Linked DNA regions of Homo sapiens: region 2 is linked to region 1. The links are contacts of gene promoters, found by promoter capture Hi-C in human tissues and cell types (Jung and others, 2019). All regions are on one chromosome and are shown on one strand. The core of a region is centred on a gene start or on the middle of the fragment in contact, and the rest is flanking DNA. Distances in the headings are between cores, read along the strand shown. Region 1 holds the start of MSI1 (musashi RNA binding protein 1). Region 2 holds the start of RNF34 (ring finger protein 34).

The links. Contacts are between HindIII fragments. The study calls those that stand out against the background at their distance.
Region 2: a contact is called between the fragment with the promoter of RNF34 here and the fragment with the promoter of MSI1 in region 1, in 1 of the 25 tissues and cell types used here (dorsolateral prefrontal cortex).

What each region holds. Positions count from the first base shown.
Region 1 is chr12:120,367,737-120,370,827 of GRCh38, forward strand. It overlaps MSI1 (musashi RNA binding protein 1), which reads right to left and starts at 1,428. Exons shown (of 15, transcript NM_002442.4): 1 at 1,297-1,428; 2 at 1,097-1,137; 3 at 456-537; 4 at 272-356. The coding sequence starts at 1,355. The HindIII fragment of the contact is 19,353 bases long and covers 1-3,091 here.
Region 2 is chr12:121,398,471-121,401,854 of GRCh38, forward strand. RNF34 (ring finger protein 34) reads left to right here and starts at 1,648. Exons shown (of 6, transcript NM_025126.4): 1 at 1,648-1,748. The coding sequence starts at 1,743. RefSeq lists enhancers at 1,191-1,270, 1,756-2,287, 2,288-2,819. The HindIII fragment of the contact is 20,899 bases long and covers 1-3,384 here.

The sequences.
Region 1 (3,091 bases), core at 178-2,677:
GTACTTCTAGGGAGAGGGTGGCGGCTGCCTCTCCCCTCACCAGGACTAGGGGAGGGGGGATGTAGCATCTCATGGCAGGCCAGGGATTTTTCTCCTCCCTCTCCCCCCCAACTCTAGTGACAAAGTTTCAGAGCATGGCAGCCCTCTTACTCAGAAAAACTCCCTCCTTCCTCATGGACCCCGTCCAGCTGTCCCCTGGGGAGAGTCCTGACCCTCTCCTCCGGCAGCCTCCCTCTCCCAAAGGACCCCCGAAGCCCCGAGGGCCACTCACTGTTTTGGAGTCGAGCTCGTGCCGCGATTGCGCCAGCACTTTATCCACCCCCGCCTGGTCCATGAAAGTGACGAAGCCGAAACCCCTGCGCGCCGTAGTGAGGGAGAGGCAGATGGTTACAAGGCAGTGAGTGGCGGGTGGAGGGGGGCGAGCCGGGAGCAGGAGGAGGGGGTGAGGGGCTCACCTGGATCTCTTGGTCAGGGGGTCCCGCATCACCAGACACTCCTTCACCTCCCCGAACTGGCCGAAGTATTCGCGCAGCCCTTCTGTAACCACACACCCGCCTTCGGACCAGCCCGGGCCCCGCGCCCTTCCCCCCCCCCCGTCCTTTGCCCCCGGTGACCCCGGAGCGGCCCGGCCGCCCCCGCGCCAAGCTGCCCGCGCGTTCTCCACTGCCGCCGCCCCCCACCGCCCTCGCCCCGTTCCCGCTGAGCCTCCTGGCGCCCACCGGGGCCCCGGGAAGCCGAGGGCCGAGCTGGGCTGGAAGGGGGACGGCTCCGGCCGGGTTCCCGCCGCTCCGGGAGCAGCCTCACAAAAGTTTGAGCCGCAGGTGCGAGCGGAGTTGGCGCTGCCGCCGGCGGGTCCCGGGGGCCCAGCCCACCCCCCGATACCCCCTGAACCCCTCATCTGCTCCCCTCCACCCGCTGGGCCGGGTGCGCTCGCGGATCGCCCTGCGCTCTCGGGGTCTCCGGGCGGGGCGCGAAAGAGGGCGCGAGGGCGCCCGGGGTCAGCAGGGCGCAGGGCCGGGCTGGGGTGTCCGGGTCCGGGGCGCCGGGGGGTCCGGGGTGCCCTGCCGGACCGGCGGGCGCTCCCGGGCTCGCTCACCCTGCGTAGTCTGCCAACTGAGTCCCCCGATGAACATCTTGCTGCGGGAGGAGGAGAGACACAAAGGGCCCGCGTGAGCGCCGGGCGCCAGGGCGCAGGGGGCGCGGGCCCGGGCTCCGGGGAGGCCCGGCCGGACCCGGATCGGCCATGTTGGCGGGGCCGGGGCGGGCGCGGGCCAAGCAGGCCGGGCCGGGCCGTACCAGGGGTCGTGCGGCGAGTCCGGGGAGGCGAGGCCGGGCTGGGGCGCGTCAGTCTCCATCGGGAGCCGCGGGCGGCGCGGGCAGCGGAGCGGCGGCGGCGGCGGCGGCGGCGGCGCTCGGCGCGGGGCAGATGAGGAGCGCGGCGAAGGGGGCCGGACGGACAGGCCATGCTGCCCCCTCCCCCGACCCCGCTCGGGCGGGCGGGCGGGGACGGCCGAGGGGAGGGCCCGCCGGGGGCCGACCTGCCGGCTCCTCCCCCCGCCGCCCTGCGCGCATAAAGCCCCGCGCTCGCCCGCGAGCCCGGGCGCCCGCGGAGGCGGCGGCGCCGGGACCCCCTTCCCGCGGGGCTCCTGGGTCTCCGGGGCCGAGCGAGACCCCCGAATCCCGGTGCGGGCCGGGACCAGGGCGCGGCCGCACCCCCCACCCACCCCGGCGCGGGGGCCCGGCCGCGGGAACGCCCTCCCGGAATGAAGCGCTTCCCGGTGCCTTCAAGGTAGCTCGGTTCCGGATCGGGAACCCCCCCGGTCTTCCCTCTCAGGTCCCTGCTGTCCAGAATTGAAGAGAACCCCAATCTCCTCGGGTCGGGCGGGAGATAGCCCTAGTGCTCCCCAGTCCCCACATGCTCCATTTCCCCAGTCGGAGCGAGAAGCCGCCCTCAGAGCCCCCAGTTTCCTCCCAACCTAATTTACAGCCCCCCACCCCCACCCCAGGGCTCTAATTTAGAGCCCTCGCTCCGTTCCCAGGATCCCATATCCAGTTTGGGGGACCCACTCAGTGCCTCGCGTCCCGAGTGGGGAACCTCCATCAGCACCCCAGTAGAAACCGTATCCTCTTCCCCAATCCGTCCTCAGCCCTTGGTGTCCAAAGTGAGAGTCCCCCTTAGTTTCCCCAAATCCCTGCCGTCCACATTAGTGGACCCTATGGTCTGTTGAGAAAATCCCGCGCCCCAAGCCCGGGTTCTCAGTTTGCCGCCACCCCCACCTCCCGGTGTGAGGAGTCTCCCCTGGTTCTCTCCCTCCCTGGCCGGTTTTTGTGAGATCCATTCAGACTCCTGTCCTGATTCGGGAAACCCGGTTCCAGACACTCACCACCCCCACCACACCGAGGCTGGAGGAAAAGGCAGTGCCTCTTAGAGCCTCCTGTTTCCAGTTTAGGAGCCCAACGCCTCAGCTGTGCACCGTCCCCTCCGAATGACCCCCTTCTTTTGCAGAGGTCTAAGCTCCACCCCATCCCATTGGAAGAGCCTAAACTACCTACCCACTGCATTTGGAATGACTTCCCTCAGTCCCTCTTATTTTGAGGCTACTCCCCGTGAAGGCAAACACCTTCCTTTCTACCCCCATCTTCTGGGTCTCTGGGATCCCCCAGTACTTGCACCCAAGGCTCCTTGGAGTCACCTTACGTACCCCTAAAATTCCCTCCCTCCAGCCTGGGAACAACCCTGAGAAAGTATTCTGGTTCACCAGGGGAGCTGCGGGGCCACTCTCCTTATCCCCACCTCTCCTTATCCCCGCCTCTCCATATCCCCACCTCTCCATATTCCCACCTCTCCATATCCAAGCCTTAGGACCCTTCACTTCCCCAGCTGAAACCAGCCAAAAAAGGATCAAACCAGGAAGCTTAGGTGGCCAACACCCCTTCTCCCCATCCCTGCTGGGGGTCTCAGTGCCACACAAGCCCCTCCCTCCCAACTCACCTTCTACTCCTTCCCCCATCCCTACCTTAATCCATCCGGTGTAATCCAGTGACAACCCATGTTGACAAGCCCTTTGCTGTTCACCTTCACATTCCATCC
Region 2 (3,384 bases), core at 398-2,897, 1.0 Mb after region 1:
TCCACATCCTCACCATCTATTTTCTTTCTTTTTAATGTTACCCATCCTTGCAGGCGCACAGCGGTATCCATGGATTTGATGTGCATTTCCTTGATAGTTAATGATGTTGAGCATCTTTCATGTGCTTATTAACTCTGGAGGTAGACCTGCCAGGCCTTTTCTAATGAGGGACAACCATGGCTTTGTACCCCAAGAACATTTTTATTGAGTTGCTTTGTGTCTAGATCATTAGGAGAATTAATTAATACTTTCTCTTCCAATGAAGCTCAGCTGCGTCCTACATCGTGAATGAAAGGCTTTCTGTACATTTTTCCAAAAAAAACCTAGGACTATTATGGATAAGAAGTGACATTATCTGAGCAGCACTTGAAGCAAGAGAAATACATACTCTGATGCATTATTTCAGTCTAAGGAAGTGGCCTGCCACGCACTCTCTCTCTCTCCGTGTGTTTTAATCTAATATAGCACAACTTGTCGAAGCAAATCTATAATGTATATAAATAACAGAACAGTCTTAGGTCCTCATGAAGAGCGAACTGACTTTTTTATGTTTAAAATCTTAAATACTGGTTAAGTTAGAGGTGAGATTAAAAAGTGTAGGAAAATCGGCTGGGCCCGGTGGCTAATCTCAGCACTTTGGAAGGCCGAGGTGGGCGGCTCACCTGAGGCCAGGAGTTCTAGACCAGCCTGGCCAACACAGTGAAAACCAGTCTCTACTAAAAATAGAAAAAATTAGCCGGGTGTGGGGCGGGCGCACGAAGTCCCAGCTACTAGGGAGGCTGAGGCAGGAGAATCCTTTGAACCCGGGAGACGGAGGTTGCAGTGAGCCGAGATCACACTATTGCACTCCAGCCTGGGCAAGAGCAAGACCTTGTCAAAAATAAAAAAAAGGTGTAGGAAAATAAACTGTCATCCAGTACAGCTGAAGAAATCGATACCTTAATTTACAACCTCAGTTTCTCTGTCCAAAGGCAATTCCAAGACTCGAGCAAATTCTTTTATTATGCTACGATTTTGGTTATTTTGAATACAGCTTTTCAAAGAGCCCTTGGGATTTGAGAGCCCTTGGTTTTCTAAGTGTTTTCAATAAGTCTTGTTTTTAAAGGCCGCGTCCTAGCGAGTGCAGCTGCCGCTCCTTACCGGACCCACGAGTGAGGAGCCCCGAGGTCATCACCGAGCATGAACGCGGGAACGTCTGGGAAGGAAATCTGAGGCCCTGCTCTGACGGTCATAACAAAGGCCTTCGAGCCAACCGGCGTGTTCAAATTCACCACGGCCCTTCCCGCGCTCCCCTCCCCGGAAACTTGACCACCTAGCCCAGAAAGCCGCAGCAGCTTCCTCAGGGACGCTATCTCCCATTTCAAACACCCAACCGAGAAAGCAGCGCCGCAGCGCGCCTTCCGCCACGCCCAGGTCCGCAGGTCTTCGCTCGGGGCGGAAAAGAATCCTCCCCGCGCACTCCCAGCCAGGAGGAACGCCAGAGGCCCCGCCCAATCCCTGTCGCTTCATTGGCTCTGGTGACCGGCCTCCCGAAAGTCGGCTTCCTATTGGTCGTCGTGGCCGCCGCTCTGCGCTTTTACCGGGGCACGCGGCGAGCGTGACCACGCCCCTTACGTCCGGACGCTCGGTCGCCTCCCGGGGCGCGGTAATCACCGCCCAGAGGGAAGGAGGTCGGCAGTGTGAGGAGCTGCTATGGTGCTGAGTTTCCTGGTAGAGCCGGCCGAGCTGAGGCGGTCGCGGCCATGAAGGTGAGGGGCCGGTGGAGCCGGACAGACCCTCCTCGCCAATCCTATCCTGCCAGGGCACCTGAAGCGCCTCCTTTCTTTCCGCCTTAGCGGTTACCTAGTCGTCATCTCGGAGAGCTGCGCTGAGGGGGGTCGCTTGCCCGGCTTCAGGTGCCCCAACCGAGCCAGGGCAGGCTGCCGGACCCTCTCGAGCTCCTCCAGTGCCACCCCCGTCAGCGACCCGAGCGGTGGGGAGAAGCCGGGCGTCCCTAGCGTTCGCGCCGGGTGGGCCCCTCTCTGCGCCGGGCCCTGTGCGCCTCCTCGGGGGCCTGAGGCAGAGCCGCCAGGGCTCGCCTGAGCCTCGGTCCCTTGGCGCGCGGCGTGCCCTTTCCCGCCCCGAGTCCTTGAACTAACCCAAGTGTTGGGGACATCGTGGGACCGAGGAGAACAGGAGGGGTGCAGGGGGTGGTGAGGCTAGGGCCAGGCTAACGGGTTAAAGAACTCTCAGGGTGGGGATGCCACCCGGAAGGGGTGCTTCGTAGGCTGCACGTCGGGGCCGCGAACTAGAGAAGGCTGGATGTGCCTCCATCGCCACTAGGTAAACGCAGCAAGGAATTTGGCAGCTTGAGTTCTCCAAGGTGGGAGTGAGAGCGTGGGAGCATTACTGATGAGAAGTTGAAGAAAAGGGGAAAGGGGAGCGGGGTTTCCGGCCTACTTCTGAGAGATGATTCTCAACCCGATCACTGAGAGTTCTGAAGAGCTTTGTGAACAGCAGTCAGTTCAGGGTATTGATTCATTTGCCGAACTCAAACCAAGTGGGATGAGTCATAAGGTGATGATAACTTTCAGACCTAGATGGTTTCGTTAATCTCAGTGCAGAGGTGTGCTGGGGGTGGGTAATCTAGCAGGTGAGCTGCTAGATTAACGCTGTCTCCATAAAGCGTCAAAGATTTACTATAGAAGATTGAAAAAGAGTGTCAGCTGGTCACAGAAATTCAGCACATGTTTTGTTGAACGTTTTCTGTGCGTTAGCCAAGAGGGAGACATGGTGAAGAGAAGTAATTCAAAATACAGTCTCATCCCTTAGGAAGGCAGTTTACCATTCAAAAGAAGAGTTATTTGTAAGTAACCATATTACAAGGCAGAAGGCTATAGGTATCAAAAAAAAAAAAAAAAAAAAGGCAGGGACAAAACACAGGAGCCAGAAAGGATACTTCTGGCTACAGAAAGCAAGGAATATTTTTGGAATAGGTAACTTTGGAACTGTGCCTTGAAGTATGAGGATATTGTAAAAGCTTATTTTTAACTTTCCAGTTTAGTTATAAAATATTATTACAGCTTGAAATATCTATTAAAGTATCTAGAAGTAGCTTTATTTCCTGAAAACCACCCTCTGCTGTGTTAAGATCCAAAAACAAAGCAGGGATCTTTATATATAATGCCTCGAAGAATCAGTATCTTTATTAATATTAAATTTGTGGCCCATTAAGGAACTAGCTATCGAAGGAAAGAATTAGAGACAGGTCCAGTGTTGAAATTTTTAAACAAGTTCTTTGAAAACAGACGTGTGTTTTGAATTGAAGTGGAAGGTACTACTTTCTAAGATGAAATTTTAGAAACAAAGTTTGGTGGCAATTGAAATTATAGAAAAGATACGTAT